Linked DNA regions of Homo sapiens: region 2 is linked to region 1. The links are contacts of gene promoters, found by promoter capture Hi-C in blood cells and fetal thymus (Javierre and others, 2016). All regions are on one chromosome and are shown on one strand. The core of a region is centred on a gene start or on the middle of the fragment in contact, and the rest is flanking DNA. Distances in the headings are between cores, read along the strand shown. Region 1 holds the start of CNOT1 (CCR4-NOT transcription complex subunit 1). Region 2 holds the start of RBL2 (RB transcriptional corepressor like 2).

What was found. Contacts are between HindIII fragments. The CHiCAGO score rates a contact against its expected background, and 5 or more counts as called.
Region 2: the fragment with the promoter of RBL2 here is called in contact with the fragment with the promoter of CNOT1 in region 1 in 3 of 17 cell types (M2 macrophages, monocytes and fetal thymus); the score reaches 6.6 in M2 macrophages.

What each region holds. Positions count from the first base shown.
Region 1 is chr16:58,627,751-58,631,451 of GRCh38, forward strand. CNOT1 (CCR4-NOT transcription complex subunit 1) reads right to left here and starts at 2,076. Exons shown (of 49, transcript NM_016284.5): 1 at 1,978-2,076. RefSeq lists enhancers at 1,153-1,829, 1,830-2,505, 1,954-2,163, 2,454-2,943. The HindIII fragment of the contact is 12,291 bases long and covers 1,074-3,701 here.
Region 2 is chr16:53,433,087-53,437,080 of GRCh38, forward strand. RBL2 (RB transcriptional corepressor like 2) reads left to right here and starts at 1,385. Exons shown (of 22, transcript NM_005611.4): 1 at 1,385-1,710. The coding sequence starts at 1,471. RefSeq lists a silencer at 1,440-1,659 and an enhancer at 2,270-2,379. The HindIII fragment of the contact is 5,814 bases long and covers 1-3,994 here.

The DNA of each region.
Region 1 (3,701 bases), core at 826-3,325:
CCTTAAAACTTCTAAGATTACAATCTTAGGTAAGAAAAGGAAATATTTTCAGTTACAAATAGACATGTCTTTGCGCCTTCATTCTAGACTTTTTTTTGAGACGGAGTCTCCCCGTCCCCCAGGCTGGAGTGCAGTAGCTCTATCTCGGCTCACTGCAACCTCCGCCTCCCGGGTTCAAGCAATTCTCCTGCCTCAGCCTCCCAAGTAGCTGGGATTACAGGCACCTGCCACCACGCCCGGCTAATTTTTGTATTTTTAGTAGAGACGCGGTTGTGACATGTTGGCCAGGCTGGTCTCGAACTCCTGACCTCTGGTGATTCACCTACCTTGGCCTCCCTAAGTGCTGGGATTACAGGCGTGAGCCACCGCGCCCAGTCGATTCTAGACTTGTTTCCACTAAGACTTGGGGAACCCACACTTGTTGAAAAGGAACTAACTCTCCAAACTAGTTTTATCAACATGCTATCATTTCAGTCAAAGCACAGCTAGCCACCTAAAACCATGTATCATCAATGCATATTCTCCTTAGACAAGGTAACAATTTGCAGTATCCTAAAACATAATTATTTAAACTGTTACCACATGTCTTCTTAATAGCTAAAATACTCTGCTGCCAATCTTTAAAAGGGTAGGAATACCAACCGGGACCACAGATCACTTAAGTATTAAACCCAAGTACCTATAGAAAAAAATTGTTCTTAATCTGTTTGACCTTCCTCCTAATATTTTACTTGCCTTCCCTCATTTTTTTAATCCATGTATTCCCTATTCCTATCAAAGGGGCTGTCATAAGGAAAACGTTCGGCATTGTTTCAAACAGTATAATTATATTCACTCAATCACTGACTTAAAAAAAAAAAAAAACCCAAGTAGTCACAGGCTATCGAATTGTAGAGAAATCGGCAGGGTAGGTTAAGCATTGTTACTCAGTTTTCAGGAAGAAAACAGACTTTATTAGAGTCCTAAGAAATGTGACATTTGATTAACTTCATGGGAAAAGTTTGTCATAAAGTTTATTTTAAATACAACATTTTCAAACGCACAGATGTCAAGCATTCTTTTTTAATCTACAAAGCTTACTCCTCGGGGAGTTAGTATCTGTGAGCCCTCTTGGGTGAATTCTGCAAAGGAGGTGGTACTGAAAAAGTATTATTTGTGTTTGGCCTTAAGTACCTCTACAAGACCTGCCGTGGATCTTATCAGCCTTGAGGCCTACAAGTGCTCAGCTCACTAGCGGGACACTTGTCCTGGGTGAGCAGGACCGCCACTACTGCAGACACCGGACCGAGTAGGTGGGGGCCAACTTCAAAGAAAGTGTGAGCGCCCAGGCGCGCGAGTGGAACAAAACCTGTAGCAAGTAATAAGGAAGTGCTTGCTCCCGCCCGCCCTTCCCATCCGGGGACACCCGAAACCTGGGGGGCTTTGACAACGTGCTGGGGGCGTAAGACGGGGAGAGTGGCAGCTCCGAGTACACGGAGAAGAACTGGAAACATGCAAAAACTCCAAACACGGTCCCCCCCGCCAGAAGCCCTAGGCCTCGGAAGCCGATGCCCACTGCAACCATCAGGGAGCAGAGACAGAAACAGTAGTTAAGGAGGTCGTGGAGGTCTCAGAGGGGTGCAACCCGCGCGAAGCCAGGCCCAGCGACACGAACTGCCGCCGCTGCCGCCCCCTGAGCCTCCAGGCCCGGGACAGAGACCACCATGGGTCTCACCCCGCGCTCTACCCTCCGCTTCCTGGAGCCTTCTCGCTGGCCTCTCATCTTCAGAGCGCGAAGCCTCCGAGAGCCGTGTGGAGAAGAGTCCGCCCTCTCCCGCCTCGTCCCACTTCCCCGTCCCGGCTGCCTCTCACTCCCTAGAGCTCCGGGAAACGCTTCCAGTGGCCCCAGGTCCACCCCTGTTCCTCCTCCCACCGGCTCTCGCGTTCCCAAGCTGACACCGCCACCCTACCCTAGCCCCTGACGCCAACCCGCCTCACCTCAGGCGGCTCCGGCAGCGCTGGACACAGGAAACTCCTGGGTCCCCGACTCCGGCTCTCCTCGACCCCCTCTTCGGTTAACTCCGCTTGTTTCTCTACAAAATGGCGCCGGAGGTCGCGCGCTCACGTCGCGGCCTTTCCCCTCCCCGTTCCCATTTCATCATTCGCTGCCCGCCCGAGGAGGGATGGCCCCAGAGCCAGCCAATGGCCGCGCCCCGCCTGTGGCTTCTACCCAATCACCGACAGGTGCCCGCGGATTTAAACCAATCACACTCTATCACTTGCAGAAGTCGAGGAAGAAATCAGGCTCCTGCTAGCAACTACCAATCCGGCCTCCTACTTCGCGGACTTTGGCCAATTGCCGCTCACCAGGCCCAGGGGACCGGAGTCAGAGCCCTCGCGCCTGCGCTCGAGGCGAGGGCCAATAGGGAGAGGCTGATAACTTCGATTTGGGGCTTCACGTACTTCCCACCTGCCCTGGAGGGCTGCGACCAGTGGGGCTTGGCATTGCCTTTGAGGAACAATAAATTATGGAAGGGGCCCATAACTCCTCGCCACCCTGCGCGGGAACTACTTTGAATTACAGTGAAACAGCTTTCCTCCACTTTCCTTCCTCTTTCGAAATGTCACGGTCCAGTAGACTTCGGGGATTCCCAACCGAAACAATCCCCTCCCCTAGTGTCCCTTTGGCGGGGAACGCCAGCCAGAAAGCAAGCCAGGTTGTGACTAGAGTTGGGGCGCTTTGCATCCTGGGATGTGTAGTCGCGCTCCTCTACCCCGTTCCCATCGCAGAAGTAATGCGTCTTCGTTCGTCGCTGCGCCCTAGAAGGAGCAGTGCATGCTGGGGGTTGTAGTCACCCAGGTGGCCACCTTGTCCTCGCTTGCTTCGCTTTGGTCAAGGGAACTTTCTGTTTTAGTTCTGTCTATTGAAGAAGGGACACCTTCCAGAGACGCCTTCCAGAGACGTAGGAGACGCAAGTTCTCTTCCTGGCTTAAGTCCTAGAAGCCGTCTAAGAAAGGATACCCATGTCCTTTGCTCTCAAGAGAAAAAGCATAGAAACATATTTTGCTATGGTTTGTTTGTTAACTATGATAGTTGGTAAGATTTTATACTCACCTGTACCCAAAAGAGAAAGGATTGGGAAGGAAGTGTTGACTGGTTAGCTCTATTACCTTTTGAAATTAAGGCCGGGCGCGGTGGCTCACGCTTGTAATACCAGCTCTTTGGGAGGCTGAGGCGGGTGGATCACGACGTCAGGTGATCGAGACCATCCTGGCTAACACGGTGAAACCCCATCTCTACTAAGATACAAAAAATTAGCCGGGCGTGGTGGCGCACACCTGTAATCCCAGCTACTTAGGAGGCTGAGGCAGGAGAATCGCTTGAACCCGGGAGGCGTGGGTTGCAGTGAGCAGAGATCGCGCCACTGCACTCCAGCCTGAGCGACAGAGCAAAACTCTGTCTCAAAAAAAAAAAAAAAAAAAAAAAGGCAGGGCGCTGCGGATCACGCCTGCAATCCCAGCACTTTGGGAGGCCGAGGCGGGCGGATCACGAGGTCAGGAGATGGAGACCATTCCGGCTAACACGGTGAAACCCCGTCTCTACTAAAAATACAGAAAAATTAACCGGGCGTAGTGGCGGGCGCCTGTAGTCCCAGCTACTCGGGAGGCTGAGGCAGGAGAATGGCGTGAACCCGGGAGGCAGAGGTCGCAGTGAGCCGAGA
Region 2 (3,994 bases), core at 135-2,634, 5.2 Mb before region 1:
AGCCCATTTATAAATCAAGGATTGGCAATTTAAAAAATTAAAATAAAGAAAGGAGAATTGGAAATAAAATGAATTGGCTGGGCACGGTGGCTCACGCCTGTAATCCCAGAACTTTGGGAGGCCGAGGTGGGTGGATCACTTGAGGTCAGGAGTTCGAGACCAGCCTGGCCAACATGGTGAAACCCTGCCTGTACTGAAAATACAAAAATTAGCTGGGTGCGGTGGCGCACACCTGTAATCCCAGATACTCAGGAGGCTGAGGCAGGAGAATCGCTTGAACCCAGGAGGCGGAGGTTGCAGTGAGCCGAGATCGTGCCACTACACTCCAGCCTGGGCAACAGAGCCAGACTCTGTCTCAAAAAAAAAAAAAAAGTTTAATTCACGCAGAGCCAGCTGAACGGCAGACAGGAGTTTGGTTATTCAAATCAGCCTACCAGAAAATTCGGAGACTGGGGTTTTTAAAGAATGACTTGGCGGGTAGGGGGCCAGGGATTGGCGAATGCTAATTTGTCAGGTGGGAGGTGAAATCACAGGGGGTTGAAGTGGGCTCTTGCTGTCTTCTGTTACTGAGTGGAATTGCAGAACTTGTTGAGCCAGATTATGGTCTGAGTGGCGCCAGCTAGTGCATCGGAATGCGCGGTCTGAAAAGTATCTCCAGCACCAATCTTAGGTTTTACAATAGTGATGTTATCCCTGAGAGCAATTGGGGAGGTCAGGAATCTTATAGCCTCTGGCTGCAAGCCTCCTAAATCATAATTTCTAATCTTGTGGCTAATTTGTTAGTTCTACAAAGGCAGACTGATCCCCAGGCAAGAATGGGGTTTGTTTTTGGAAAGGACTGTTACAATCTTTGTTTCAAAGTGAAATTAGAAATTAAATTCCTCCTGTAGTTAGTTAGGTCTTCGCCCAGGAATGAACAAGGGCAGCTCGGAAGTGAGAAGCGTGGAGTCATTTAGGTCAGATCCCTTGCACTGTCATAACTTTCTCACTGTTAGGATTTTTGCAAAGGCAGTTTCGTGAACGTACAGAGACAGGCCCTTGCTATTATCCCTATTTTTTAGATAAGGATATCCAGGCGATGAGGAAGTTTTACTTCTGGGAACAGCCTGGATACGAAACCTTCACACGTCAGTGTCTTTTGGACATTTTCTCGTCAGTACAGCCCTGTTGAATGTTCTCACGGTGGGGAGGTACGTGTTTAAAATGCGGGGAAGGTGCTTTTATTTCACCCCTGGTGAAACTAGGGGAGCTAATTTTTTTAAACATGATTTTTGGCCCCCTTGAACCGCCGGCCTGGACTACGTTTCCCAGCAGCCCGTGCTCAAGACTACGGGTGCCTGCAGGCGGTCAGCGTCGTTTGCGGCGGCGCAGGCGCGGTGCGGGCGGCGGACGGGCGGGCGCTTCGCCGTTTGAATGGCTGCGGGCCCGGGCCCTCACCTCACCTGAGGTCCGGCCGCCCAGGGGTGCGCTATGCCGTCGGGAGGTGACCAGTCGCCACCGCCCCCGCCTCCCCCTCCGGCGGCGGCAGCCTCGGATGAGGAGGAGGAGGACGACGGCGAGGCGGAAGACGCCGCGCCGCCTGCCGAGTCGCCCACCCCTCAGATCCAGCAGCGGTTCGACGAGCTGTGCAGCCGCCTCAACATGGACGAGGCGGCGCGGGCCGAGGCCTGGGACAGCTACCGCAGCATGAGCGAAAGCTACACGCTGGAGGTGCGCTCGCGGGCGGAGGGGCGCTTCCGGCCTAGTTGGCGTGAACCGGTGCCTTCCGAGCCGCGTCGCGCGCCTCGAGAGACTCTCGGGCGGGTTGCGGGCTCCCAGCCCCGAGAGGGGTGGGGACTTCCTCTGCGCTATTCCGAGGCTCTTAGCCGCTCCGAGGGCTAACCCGCTCTCGCCGCGCTTTCCTGCGGCTTCCGAATGGGGAACGCGTCTTGCCCTAAAGTAGCACAGCAAGGCTGAGATCGCGCTGGGGTCCCGTTGAGGAAAATGGGTGTGTGTGGCCCATCTGACCCCCCGCCCGCCTTGTTAGTAGAATGAACTAGTGTCGTTGTCAAGACCACACGGACAAGGGGAGGGGACTTGCCCTTATTTGCACCGCGATTAACCGGGTTGTGGCACCTGGGTCTCCAGGCGTCTCCGTCTGTTCGCTTCCCCCTGTTAACCAAATTGCCTTTGCCCTGGCGTTGCGGGCGTTTGAGTCAACGTGCTGATGCGTTTTGGGCTGTGTTTACGTCTGTGTAAACAAATTAATACTCATTTCCCCCCAGGCCAGATGAAATGAGCCCTCCGCCGACCCGGATGTAGACACATGCCCCCATTTGTCACTAGGATCAGGACTGTGGCTACCTCGAGGGCTTTTTGGTCACCCCGGGCATTGCACAGGACTCCTGTTGTTGTTGCGATCCGGGTGTGTTAGGTCGCAGCCTTCGGACAGGGCTTGCAGATGAGAAAAATGGCCATTCTAGCCAGTGAGTGTCAGCTTTGTATGCACCTCCCCTTCATGGGCCAATGGGAAGTGACACGGAAGTACGGATTGTTTATCAGCTGTTTGACTGTGTGTGTGGCATTTAAACCTGAGGCCATTTGATTTCTCAAGTCGTTTTATAATTAATTTGTAGAAAGAGTCGGGCAAATAGGTCCAGGATGCAAAGCCTAACCAAGGTATTATTTAAATATGATGTTTTTGGCTATGTGTACTGATGAGTGAGGTTATTTTTAATTTGTATTTGCATTAATAGAATTTTAATTCAATTACTAGTTCCCTCTTTGAATTGTTAGGTCTGCAGAAGATAGTGTATGGTGGCTTTAGAACCCGACAGACCTGAAACCGCTGGAAAAGTTCAGTATGGTGATCTCTAAACTGGAGATATTTGTGTTTACCTCACAGAGCTGTTCTGAAGATTAAATAAGGCAATAATGTAGTTTCTGGCACATAAAGCACCCATATGGACAGTGTTTTCAAGTTTACTAAGCTCTTTGTATATTTACATGATCTGGCTGAGTAAGCTATGTTCCTATTCATCTCTCAGTGCCTTTCTGTAGTCTGGCAAAGAGAAGGACTGGTTGGCTTTTTATGTTGTTTTTTGTTTTTTGGGTTTTTTTTTGGTAAATGGCCTTAAAGGCTTCCAAACAAGCTCTTATTTTACCCTCAAGATAATCCTGTAAATCAGATAGAACAAGCATTATCGCCATTTATTTGAGGTATTTCAACTCATAGCAGTTAAGTTGTATGAAGTCTAGTGATACATGAGCAAGTATCACGTAATAGCTGGTTAGTAAATTATTTTTGAAAACATGTTTGATTACTCAATTCTTTTGATTACTGAGACTTTAGTTTCAGCTTCTTAGCCCAGTTTATTCAGTAAATGATTTACTCAGTAAAATATTCATCAAATATTTCTTGAGCACCTATTACTTGCTACACATTGTTCTAGGTGCTGGATATAGAGCAGCAAACCTGCTCTTGTGGGGCTTACAGTGAGGTACGCTGTGACAATATGGGATGTCATTCTCATGGGAGTGCAAGGGAAAATAAAGCTCTTATGATGTTTAATACAGAATACTGGTTATGGAATTTTAACTTGATTTCTTGTATTTTCTGTGCATTTTTAACCTGTAACTCATTCTCACAGTCCTCAGCCAAGAAAATGCAGCCTCTGAGACTGTTAAGTAATTTCCCCACTGTGTTATAGCTACTGTATGGCAGAGCCGGAATTTGAAACCAGATCTATTTGACCCTAGAAGATGTGACCATGAGATGTTAATTTTGAGGATAACTTTTTTAGTATTATGGAATTTTCAACATATATTTTTTAGGACCAAAGATAAACTAGGCACAGAGTCTACTCTTTGCATAAATTATTTAAAAGAGCTTCGCGCTCCATTTTGTCATCTAAGCACTGTAAAATTCTCACAAGACTAATTCTTCTTTTTAGGAACGATATAGTTGTAAACTTTCTATTTTTTTTCTTTTTTTTTTTCTCCCTCCACCATCCAA